4 separate regions of the Homo sapiens genome follow, and all the other regions are linked to region 2. The links are contacts of gene promoters, found by promoter capture Hi-C in blood cells and fetal thymus (Javierre and others, 2016). All regions are on one chromosome and are shown on one strand. Each heading gives the region's core, a stretch centred on a gene start or on the middle of the fragment in contact. The rest is flanking DNA. Distances are from core to core; before and after follow the strand shown. Region 1 overlaps XPO5 (exportin 5). Region 2 holds the start of HSP90AB1 (heat shock protein 90 alpha family class B member 1). Region 3 holds the start of RSPH9 (radial spoke head component 9). Region 4 has its middle 28 kb from the start of MRPS18A.

Region 1 (2,700 bases), core at 52-2,551, 670 kb after region 2:
ATTAAATATATATTTTTAAAGCAACTGTGCTTGGAGATCCACATAATATTGATCTAGGTTTTGCAACTTTAAACATATAGCTTAGGTTGGAGTTTCTTTTTGAGTAGGGTCTCACTCTGGTTGTCCAGGCTGGCGTGCAGTGGTGAGATCTCGGCTCACTTCAGCCTTGATTTCTCGAGCTCAAGTGATTCTCCTACCACTTCAGCCTCCTGAGTAGCTGGGATTACAGGCACCTGCCACCATGCCCGGCTAATTTAAAAAAATATTTTTAGTGGGCCGGGCACAGTGGCTCACGCCTGTAATCCCAGCACTTTGGGAGGCCAAGGCAGGTGGGTCACCTGAGGTCAGGAGTTCAAGACCAGCCTGGTCAACATGATGAAACCTTGTTTCTACTAAAAATACAAAAATTAGCTGGGTGTGGTGGCGTGCACTTGTAGTCCCAGCTACATGGGCTCAGGAGGCTGAGGCAGGAGAACTGCTTGAACCTGGGAAGCAGAGGTTGCAGTGAGCCGAGATCATGCCATTGCATTCCAGCCTGGGCGACAGAGTGAGACTCCGTCTCAAAAAAAAAAAAAAAAAATATATATATATATATATATTTAATAGAGATGGGGTTTCGCCATGTTGCCTAGGCTAGTCTCAGACTCCTAGACTCAAGTAGTCCACCCATCTCAGCCTCCCAGAGTGCTGGGACAGGTGTGAGCCACCGCACCCGGCCCTGGTTGGAGTTTCTTAAGATGAAATTCTTTTAGTCCCTATTCTCTCAGCCCTCGAAAGGAAACACTAACTTTTCTTCTTTCAGTTTTGTGAGGAGTTTAAAGAAAAGTGTCCTATCTGTGTCCCCTGTGGCTTGAGGTTGGCTGAGAAAACACAAGTTGCCATCGTCAGACATTTTGGCCTTCAGATCCTGGAACACGTTGTCAAGTAAGGAGCTCTTGGACATTACCACTGAAGTCTGAGAGAACAGATCTTTATATCTTATATAACCTATAGAGATGCTGTTTAGGTGAGTAGAGAAGAGCAATCTCCAAGAAGAGAGGAATGATCCCCTAGATGTTATCAGAACCTCACAGGAGCTCTCATTCAAGATTTAACCTTTCTTTTCTTCAGTTTCTTCATCCATGTAAAGTGTGTGGTACATATTACCCATTCAACAAATATTACCTGCCATTTAGCCAATACTTACTGAGCTCTGACTATATGTCATTAGCCCTCGAAGCCTTTTTAGAGTAATGCAATGTATAGGTCAATGAATCTCTGATTAGGCACTGTGGCTTTCTTTTTTCTCTCTGTCTTTCTGAGTTTGTGTGCCTTCTCTGGGTGGTACATCCAAAGCAGGATTGTATGAGAATAACTGAAAACCCATCCTAACTTGATTGTCCTACCCTCAACACCTATCAGAAGAGGTAGCCTTTAAGACTTAGCCATAGTTTTTCCAGAATTGTTTTGTAAGCCAGCACAGAAAATGACTGATGTCAAAACTGCATTTTCTGAAAAGCAAGTACATTGTTGCAGTTGACCTAGATGTATATTCACTTTTGGCCCATCAATAAAATCATGAGGCAAAGCTGACGTGTGGTACAAATCTTGTGCGGATTCCAGTTAATGGACCACTGCATATATAAAACCTTTTCCCAAGAATTTTTGTGTTAGTATTTTGGTTAAATGTAGATCATTTTTGCCCATTCATTGACAGGTACAAAATCAAAAGTATAATTTCTTAATGAAATCTCCAGTGTAATCAAATGTAGAAATCCATGCTATTCTCTTGTAAAGACAAGACTTCTAAAGTGGTTCTATTGACTTTATGCATTTTGGTGGTCAGGTTTCGGTGGAACGGCATGTCTCGATTGGAGAAGGTGTATCTGAAGAACAGTGTCATGGAGCTGATTGCAAATGTAAGGAATGGGTGGTTGGGAGACATGTTTCCAAGGTAGTTTAGGCAAAGCGTGACTTCTTCAATAGGGAGTTTGTGTAAAAATTCACTGCTTCTAAATAGGTCAGACAGCACAAGAAATCATAATTTAGGCCAGGCACAGTGACTCACACCTGTAATTCTAGCGCTTTGGGAAGCCAAGGTAAGAGGATCACCTGCATCTAAGAATTCGAGAGCAGCTTGGGCAATGCAGTGAGACCCCATCTCTACCAAAAATGCAAAAATTAGCTGAGCGTGGTGGCGCATGCCTGTGGCCCAGCTACTCAGGAGGCTGAGGTGGGAGGATTTTCTGAGCCCAGGAGGTCCAGGCTGCAGTGAGCTGTGATGGTGCCATGGCACTCCAGCCTGTGCAACAGAGCAAGACCCTATCTCAAAAACAAAACAAAACAAAAGCAGAAAGCATAATTCAGCATATGTCTCTTACTAGGTTTAATTAATCATGCTTATGTATTGACTTCTATTTTTTAAATTATAAAGACAGGGCAGAGGGGATTAAATATTTTCAACAAATCAATAAGATTCTTAGATCTAAATTAGATTGAAACACTATTTTCTTTTATTCCAAACAACTACTATGTGATACTAATGATGAAAAACATGCAGAATTTTAAGTATGCAGAATGAATTTGTTTCAAGTATTAGAATATGACTTTTTTTTTTTTTTGAGACAGAGTCTCTGTTGCTCCGGCTGGATTGCATTAGCATGATCATAGCTCACTGCAGCCTCGAACTCCTGGGCTCAAGTGATCTTCTCGCCTTAGCCT
Region 2 (2,700 bases), core at 7-2,506:
AGCCTCAGCATCATCTGGTAGTATGGCAGAAAAATCATAATGTTGGTCCAACCCAGGTATCTAGAGATCCCAAGTAATCCTTACACAAATTTAAATGTGAAAATCACTACCTACAGTTCTTTATTTGGGGGAGATCAAAGTGACTAGTTTAAGATAAAAATGGCACTAACTTTAAACTGCTCCCCCTGAGGTGTCAGTTCCTAAGACCAGTCCAAGGGCGGGACACTCCTGCCCCATAGGGCAGGGAGGAATAACCTGGGATCCATACGATACCCACCGGAGGAGCAATTAAATCCGGACAAAGAATTCTTAAGCCAAAAGCTCCACCACGACCCTTTCACAGCACAAAATTACAGAACAGGACCAAACCCAAGAAAGATGGTGGCCGTAGCCACCAGGCCGACACTCGTCACTGCCGGACATGCGTCGGCCAGGACCACGCGAGGAGGGGGCGCCGCAGTGCACCCTCCCTCGCCCCAGCATCCGGGCACTGGGGCGGGGCGCCAGAATCCAGAAGCTTCCAGAACAATCTCAGCTCTCGAGGAAGGGCGGAGGAAGGAGCCCATGAATCTTCCAGAACCTGCTCCCCTCCCCGCCCCTCCTCCACCGGGACTGCAAGAAAGATCTGGAAGGAGGGAGTATCGGGTGCTGGAGACCGAAAGCTCTCTTCCCACACCGTCAACCCTCCCTCACAGAAACAAAGCACCCAAGAAGGCTTTAACAACGCGTCCGATAAGAGAGGTGACAAAGCCAGTCCCACAAGGCCGTGCTGAGTCACCCGAGCGGGCACCCCCGCCACCCTGCGGTCCCCCTCCGACGCCCCGTAGCCGCGTCCGGAAGTGGAGGGGCAAAAATGGCAGCGTCCCGGGCCGCGCGGCCACCACGTGCAGCTGCCAGCCGCCCACTGCCCCAACCCCACAGCCCACCTCGCTACGGCCAGCAGGCGCCGAGAGAAAGCCCCACCCCCCAAACACACTAGAGAAAACCGAGGAGGACTCAAAAAACCTCACCCACCACTACCCTCACCCTATAAAAATCCAGAGCGTTATCCACAAGCCACCCCGACATCTAGACTAAGGCTCCCTAAAGGACAGAAAAAAACAAAAACAACACGAATACAGCACTAAAGGGAAAGAAGCCTAGCGGAGATCTCAGCCTTACCTTGAAAAGAAAAGGATTATACGTAATAGTGAGCAACGTAGGCTTGCTTTCCGATACCCAGACAGTCCCAACACTGCGCCGGAGTGACTCGAGAGAGCTACTGCGTGCCCCAAGTCGCCCTATATAAGGCGAAGCACAGTACAGCCGCCCTCCTGTAGATCCCTCCGCCTTAAAGGAGTATGATTGTCAACCCCGCACCTGCCGCCACCAGCCCACCTTGACGTCATGGTCCGAAAAAAAGAGGGGGCGGGGAAGAACCCAAGCAACGGATCCGCCCACACATTTGCTTGTGATCACAGCCCCATAGTTTCACGTCTAGGACATGACTCCATCAAGAGCGGGGATGAGGAGTGCTCATTTGGCATAAACGGTGTCTCTACGGGCGAGGAACCCACTGACCTCCCTAAACACTTGTGGGGCAGGCGTCCCCACACCCAAGGGCGGGACTGGGGGGGACACCGAAAAAGAGCGGAGGCAGCTAACCACGCGGACCACCGCTCCCAGACCCAATCTTCTTCCTAGCATCTGCCCTACACATCTCGCGTCCCGACAGAGGGACTGGCATTCGGGACCCAACCTTGGGTAGCCCCAGATCCCGACTCTCGCAGGAGTAGAGGAAGGGCGGAGGGTTCGCGCTGAGGGGCAGCTCAGCGTAGGGGGAGGGCGCCGGCCGGGGCTGGCGGGGACTCTTTGCCGACATGCGGCGGAAGGCGCGGCGGCGGCACTGCGGCATTTCCAGCAGTTTCCAGGCCTGTCTCGGCGGTCCCGCCCCCTCCCCGCGAGGCTCCGCCTCTCCGGCTGCGGCCGGGGCAGGGTTTTTGCAGCGACCCCACCCGGCGACCCGCTCTGACCTGTCCGAGAGACGCGGGTACCAGCCCAATCCTCAGGGATGGGATGGAGGGTTGGGGAGGGATCGGCTGACCCCTCCTTCCCCGCGTCAATCACACAACACCCAGGCACCTGGGGCGGCTCTGCGGGCGTACACTTTTGCAGACTGAGAGTGGAGTACCTGCGGGGGGGACCCCCCTCTAGCCCCTGCGGCCGCCACGTACACGGAGCACGGGGACATGCGCCCTCCCTACGCAGGCACGTCAAGCCCTTTCTCAAGCTGGTTCGCTTTTTTTCCGCCCACTTCGCTCCTGCAGCCATTTGGACCTGGGAAGGAGGGAGTCTCTGGGAACCAGTGCAGGGCAGCCGGAGCTCTTGGAGGCCGCGTGACGATGCCGGCCACAGAGCGGCTGGCCAAGTTGTTCCCCTTCAGCCTTGGCACCAGAGCCCCTAGGCCATGCCCCTGGCCAGTGAGCTGCCGTGTCTGGCCTGGCTCAGCCGTTTTGCCTGCCCTCCAGTTGGCAAGCTGTCCTTGCCTTTCCAAGGCCTCATCCGAAAGCCTGCTGGACCCACAACCCCTCCAGGAGAGAATAGCCACTCCCTGCTCTGTGCCCTGTAGATGTCCATCTGCTCCCCTTCCTGGCCCACCCCTGGGATGCTTGGGAAGAGTTTCCCCACAGCCACCCACATCGTCCTCCCTCACCAGCCCTG
Region 3 (2,700 bases), core at 131-2,630, 600 kb after region 2:
CGGTGGGTGATCCCAGCACTTTGGGAGGCTGAGGCGGACGGATCACGAGGTCAGGAGATCGAGACCATCCTAGCTAACACGGTGAAACCCCGTCTCTACTAAAAATACAAAAAAAAATTAACCGGGCATGGTGGCGGGCGCCTGTAGTCCCAGCCACTCGGGAGGCTGAGGGAGGAGAATGGCGTGAACCCAGGAGGCGGAGCTTGCAGTGAGCCGAGATCGAGCCACTGCACTCCAGCCTGGGCGACAGAGCGAGACTCCGTCTAAAATAATAATAATAATAATAATAAATAAATAGCCAGGTGTGGTGGCACGTGCCTGTAATCCCAGCTATTTGGGAGGCTGAGGCAGGAAAATCGCTTGAATCCGGGAGGCGGAGGTTGCAGTGAACCAAGATAGCGACACTGCACTCCAGCCTGGGTGACAGAGCAAGACTCTGCCTCAAAACAAAAATAAATAAATAAATAGCTGGATGGTCCTGTATGGTAGTGACCAGGGAATTTTCCCCAGCTCTCTCCCCATTCCGCATTCGTTCTCTATTTCCAAAAGCGCCTCCAGCTCCAGAGCAGATACCTCTATCAAAGAGCACCACCCTCTCCCTCTGGCGTCTGACTCTTCTCCAAACTGAGCCTTCTCCAAACTGAGCCAGGCCCAGCACTTGGCTGGAACCTGGCTTCTTCTCCAGGTCCGCATTTTCCAGAAACCTTCCCACTGCTTCACCTGCGTTCTTGGCCCTGTCTCTCTTATAAACCCATCCGCATGTAAGTTTCTCTTGGCCTCCTCAGGCGGAGAACAAGCTCTCGCAAGGCCCCGCCCTCCGGGGGACATCGCCCGTCCATTGCCCCGCCCTCTCAGGCTCCGCCCTAGCCTCAGATTCCGAGACATCCCCATCCCCGCCCTTTCCCTCAACCACCTCTTGACCGTCCCCAGGCCCGCCCCCCAGGGTCTCCCCCATTCCACTCATCTCAGATCCCGCCCACACCTCCCTTGGCCCCATGGGCCCCGCCCCTTTCAATTGCTGCGACCCGCCCACCCCGCCCTGCCTCCAGGTAGCCACCCTCTGGGGAGCCCGTCCCGGGGGCCTCCTCACCTATAGAGCGTCTTGCGCGGTGCGAGCTGGTCCTCACTCAGGCCCTGCGCGATGTAGTAATCGGCGACGAGGCCAAGGATGCGGCCCCAGAAGAGAACCCGATCATAGCGGTAGTCGCGCTTAACCAGCATAAGAGACGTGAGCAGCGAGGCCCGACGGTCCGGGCTGAGGCCCTGCCCACTGCCGGACGCCAGCTCCAGAGACAGCAGGAGGCTGTCGGCGTCCATCAGGTCAGCGGCTCCGCTCAACGCCCGTCGAGTTGCTAGGAGAAGCCGCCTCCATGGAGACCTGAAGCTCCGCCCTTCCGCCTAGCTGGACGCTAGGTTCCACCCACCCCACCGCCTACCGCCCAGACCTCCTCCCCACGGAGGCCTAGGCATCAGCCCCCTCCCTCATCCTTTCCAGAGTTTGGGACGGGATGTCTTCAGTTGCCACGGCCACAGTATGGCTTCCCCTACAGTTAGGCTACAGTTGGGGTTGTAAGTCCAAACCCAGCCTTTTTCCATAGATATTTGGCCTTCCCTGAGCCCTTTCACATAGTCGACATTTAGAGTCTTTACTGTATATGGACCTGGGGTCTGGAAAGAAAACAATACAAAACCCCAACACTGACACTAACTGTACTATTTCACCCCAGTCATGTCACTTCTTGACCTCAGAATGATCTGTGAAGAATTTGAGATTCCTCCTGGCTCTAATTAAGATTCTGTCAACCCGACTACCTCCACCCGCACCCCACCCCAAGCCAGGTCTTACAGAATGAGGTCCATCCATTCTCTTCCATCTTCACCAGCTGTCTTCTTTATCTACCCTTTCCATAGAAATATTCTAAGTGACAAATGAAAATCTAGGCAATGGGGGCAAGGTATAGGGTAACACCTTGGGAAAGGAGGGTGAGGAGAGAGATACAAAAAGGGGGACTTTTATAGACTACACTTTCTCATCAACTACCACCTTTCTCATCAACTACCAACTACCACCAACTGTTGTTTTTAGATCCAAATGGTAGCAAGAGATGAAAGGCCAGAACCTCACTGCAACTGGAGCTTCACTCCCTGGGCTAGATCACTTCTCCACATTCACTTCTTGAGTCCCCAGCCAAGGACAAACAAACAGGTTCCTCAGCAAGCTTGTTGCCACAGGAGATGGGCTTTATCGTTAATGTTGCTAGTTGATATTTTCATTTCTGGATTCCTTTGAAGAGCACTCAGGAAATCAGAATGACCTGGGCCCCAGCTGATAAATAAGTGTGTAAATAACCCAGATAATTACTTTTTTGATTGTCTGGGCATTGTTGGTTTTCGGGGGTTGAGACAGGGTCTCACTTTGTCACCCAGGCTGGAGTGTAGTGGTGTGTGATCTCAGCTCACTGCAGCCTCAACCTCCTGGGCTCAAGTGATCTTCCCACCTCAGCCCCCCAGGTAGCTGGGACTACAGGTGTGTGCCACCACACCCAATATTTTTTGTATTTTTAGTAGAGACGGGGTTTTGCCATGTTGGCCAGGCTGGTGTTGAACTCCGAGCTCAAGTGATCCACTCACCTGAGCCTCCCAAAGTGCTGGGATTACAGGTGTGAACCACCACGCCCAGGCTTAGGCATTGTTTAGGAA
Region 4 (2,700 bases), core at 196-2,695, 530 kb after region 2:
TCCAGCTTCTGGTGGCTCAAAGCATTCCTTGGCTGTGGGCTCCAGTCTCTGACACCACCTTCACATGCGTCTTCACACGGCTGTCCCCACCACGTCTCTCAGTGTTTTTACTTGTTTCTTAGGAGGACGCTTTCACTGGATTTGGGGCCCACACTAATCCAGCGTGATCGCATCTCAATCCTCACCTTCATTACCTCTGCAAAGATCCTATCTCCAAATAAGGTCCCATGCTCAGGTTCCAGGTGGGCATAAACTTTGGGGGTCTCTATTCAATCCACTACATTCCCCAACCTCAGAGTGAGCCAAGCTTAATTCCCCAGACTCCCTATTACCTGGCACAGCCATGGTCCCTGCCCAAGCCTGCTTCCAGACCCCCACCCCTCTGCCCCTGCATGTCCCAGGTCCCGTGGCCCTGCGCCTGGGCTCCCCAGTGCCATGCGTGCATGCCTATGTGCATGTGCACAGATTCCCCCTTCACTTGGCGGTGAGAAAGGGGGATTCTAGGCTTCAGCAGGAGCCTACAGGGGCCTCTCTGCTCGGAAATGCTTCTTCCTCTCCCCCTGGCAGCTGTTTGGCTTGGCGGGGGCCCATCTGGCAGGCTCAGCAGCCAAGGAGCCCTAGGGGGCAGTGGGAGGGAATGGTGAGGGGCAGGCAGCTCCGTAGTCCTCAGGCCCAGGCCCTGGGAGCTGGGCCAATGGCGGGCCTCCCTGCTGGCTGGCTCCAGCCCCTTCGCTCTTGGTTCTCCTCCTCCCTGGTCTCCCGTCCTCCCCATCCTGTAAAGGGGAATTCTGGAGACCCTCCACCACCCTGCACTAGCCAAGGAGAAGACGTGCAGAAGAGGAGCAGCAACTGGCAAAGCAAGAAACACACCCAGGGAAAGGGCAGTCAGTGGCTCCTGAGGATCCGCTCATGGGGGCTCTGGATACTCTTTGAGGGCACCCTAGGACAACCTGGACTTCTCCCAACCTCTGATATTCTGTCCTCTGCTCCTTCCATGTTCCTGAAATTTCCTGTCCCTGGTGTCCCCTCCAGGGCACTTGCCTTCTTCCAGGGCCCCTCTGAACCCCCAAGCTGTTGCCTACTTTTCTGGGTCAGGCCTCTCTTCAGTAAGCAGGACAGAAAATGATGCCCTCAGCCCCTAGCAGGTCCTACAACCTCTTTCTACTGATGGGAAAATGTAAAACACATGCGCACACACGCACACACACACACACACACACACAGGGAGGGGCACAGGATAATGAGCCTGGGCTTTAGGGTTCATTTGGCCTGGGTTCAAGTTGCAACCCTGCACTTGACACCTGTGTGATCCTGGACAGGTAACTTAGCCTCTCTGAGCCTTGATATAGCCTCATAAAAGTAAGACTACTCATAGCTAACTTCCAGGGTTGCAAGGATAAAATTGCATAGCCTCTGAAATAAGGTAGGTATTCTCTAAATGACAACAACTTCCTATGTGCCAGGCACTGCATTAAGCACTTTGCATAGATTATCTCATTTAATACTAATAATAACTTTATGAAATAGAAACTATTTCATGGCTAAGGAAGCTGAGCAGTTTGCTTTGGGTCCCAGAACTGGTTGAGAGATTGAGCTGAGATTTGATTCTAAGCGCTGTGAATCCAAACCCTGCACTCGAAACTACCATGCTCTGTTGCCTATGCTACTGGCAGTGTAGACATGGTAGATGGTGTTAGTATTAATACCACAGAGAGCAGCTGGGCTGCAGGGGTTTTCCCGGGGCCCCTGCAGGTGCAGCTTGGAGGTCAACCTTACCCTGCACACAGATTTGCATGCAGCTTGAAAGTCGGGATCTGCCTGGCTGCCTTAGTAATTCTGGAGTCCTGGACACGAGGGCCAACCCATCCCAGTCACAGGAGACCACTGAAACTGAAGCTCCCAAGGCTCTCGTGCCTTGGCACATCTGGAAGCTATTAGCCTCCTTTCTACCACCTACCCCCTCAACCCCGCCCCCCAGCCAGCTGTTCACAGTGGCTAATTCTGGGAAGTGCCCCTCAGCCAGTGGCTGCCTGCAGGGGAGCGGGGAGGGGGGTTCCTCACCAACACATCCATGGGGTGGAGGGGAGGTGGGCAGGCAGCAGAGGGTTAATCTGAGTAACTACAGCTGCTGGTCTCCTCCCCCAACCCACAGATAGATAGCCAGTGGGGTTACTCCTGGTTGAGTAATGAGGAGGGAAGAGAGCGGGAGGAGGCAGGGGTGAGTGTGGAGGGAGACCAAGGAGCAGAGACTGAGAAAATGTTTCTGCTGGCAAAGATCTTTAAAAGGTCATCTGATATTGTCCATCCCCCTGTTTCCTGGGGGTCACGGTGACCTCATGGTGTAGTGGAAAGAGGGCAGTCTTTGTAGTTGAGCAAAGCTGGGTCACAATCCTGACTCCGTCGCTGTCAGTCTGTACAACCTTGAGCAAGGTCCTTACCCTCTCCAGGCCTAAGCAGCCTCATTTGTGCAATGGGAGAACAGCACCCCTCTGGCAAGGCTGCCAAGAGAGTTCTGGGAGATACAGTCTGGTCCATGCCCAAAAACATTCGCTCCCTCATCTCTAAGAGCGGCAAGAAGCTTCGAGAGAGGTCTTCCCTTGGTTCCACTACCTGCCTCACTTTCTGGGATCTCACCGTCTAGATCCTGAATCCAGCACACCCATCTTACTGTGAGGCCTGCCGTCAAAGCCATGCCCTGCC

The links. Contacts are between HindIII fragments. The CHiCAGO score rates a contact against its expected background, and 5 or more counts as called.
Region 1: a contact is called between a fragment that was not itself captured here and the fragment with the promoter of HSP90AB1 in region 2, in 1 of 17 cell types (non-activated CD4 T cells). The highest score is 5.8, in non-activated CD4 T cells.
Region 3: the fragment with the promoter of RSPH9 here is called in contact with the fragment with the promoter of HSP90AB1 in region 2 in 2 of 17 cell types (activated CD4 T cells and total B cells); the score reaches 5.6 in activated CD4 T cells.
Region 4: a fragment that was not itself captured here is called in contact with the fragment with the promoter of HSP90AB1 in region 2 in 1 of 17 cell types (naive B cells); the score reaches 5.2 in naive B cells.

Annotation. Positions count from the first base shown.
Region 1 is chr6:43,571,704-43,574,403 of GRCh38, reverse strand. It overlaps XPO5 (exportin 5), which reads left to right. Exons shown (of 32, transcript NM_020750.3): 2 at 803-924; 3 at 1,826-1,898. Among named protein-coding and RNA genes, the nearest start is that of XPO5, 3.0 kb to the left of the region's middle. The HindIII fragment of the contact is 3,844 bases long and covers 1-2,700 here.
Region 2 is chr6:44,245,657-44,248,356 of GRCh38, reverse strand. It overlaps HSP90AB1 (heat shock protein 90 alpha family class B member 1), which reads right to left and starts at 1,256. Exons shown (of 12, transcript NM_007355.4): 1 at 1,162-1,256. RefSeq lists enhancers at 157-206, 691-1,445, 2,200-2,700 and a silencer at 1,757-1,996. The HindIII fragment of the contact is 5,727 bases long and covers 520-2,700 here.
Region 3 is chr6:43,643,716-43,646,415 of GRCh38, reverse strand. RSPH9 (radial spoke head component 9) reads right to left here and starts at 1,380. Exons shown (of 5, transcript NM_152732.5): 1 at 1,091-1,380. The coding sequence starts at 1,317. RefSeq lists a silencer at 1,773-1,961. The HindIII fragment of the contact is 7,744 bases long and covers 1-2,221 here.
Region 4 is chr6:43,714,142-43,716,841 of GRCh38, reverse strand. No RefSeq gene overlaps it. Among named protein-coding and RNA genes, the nearest start is that of MRPS18A, 28 kb to the right of the region's middle. The HindIII fragment of the contact is 2,271 bases long and covers 310-2,580 here.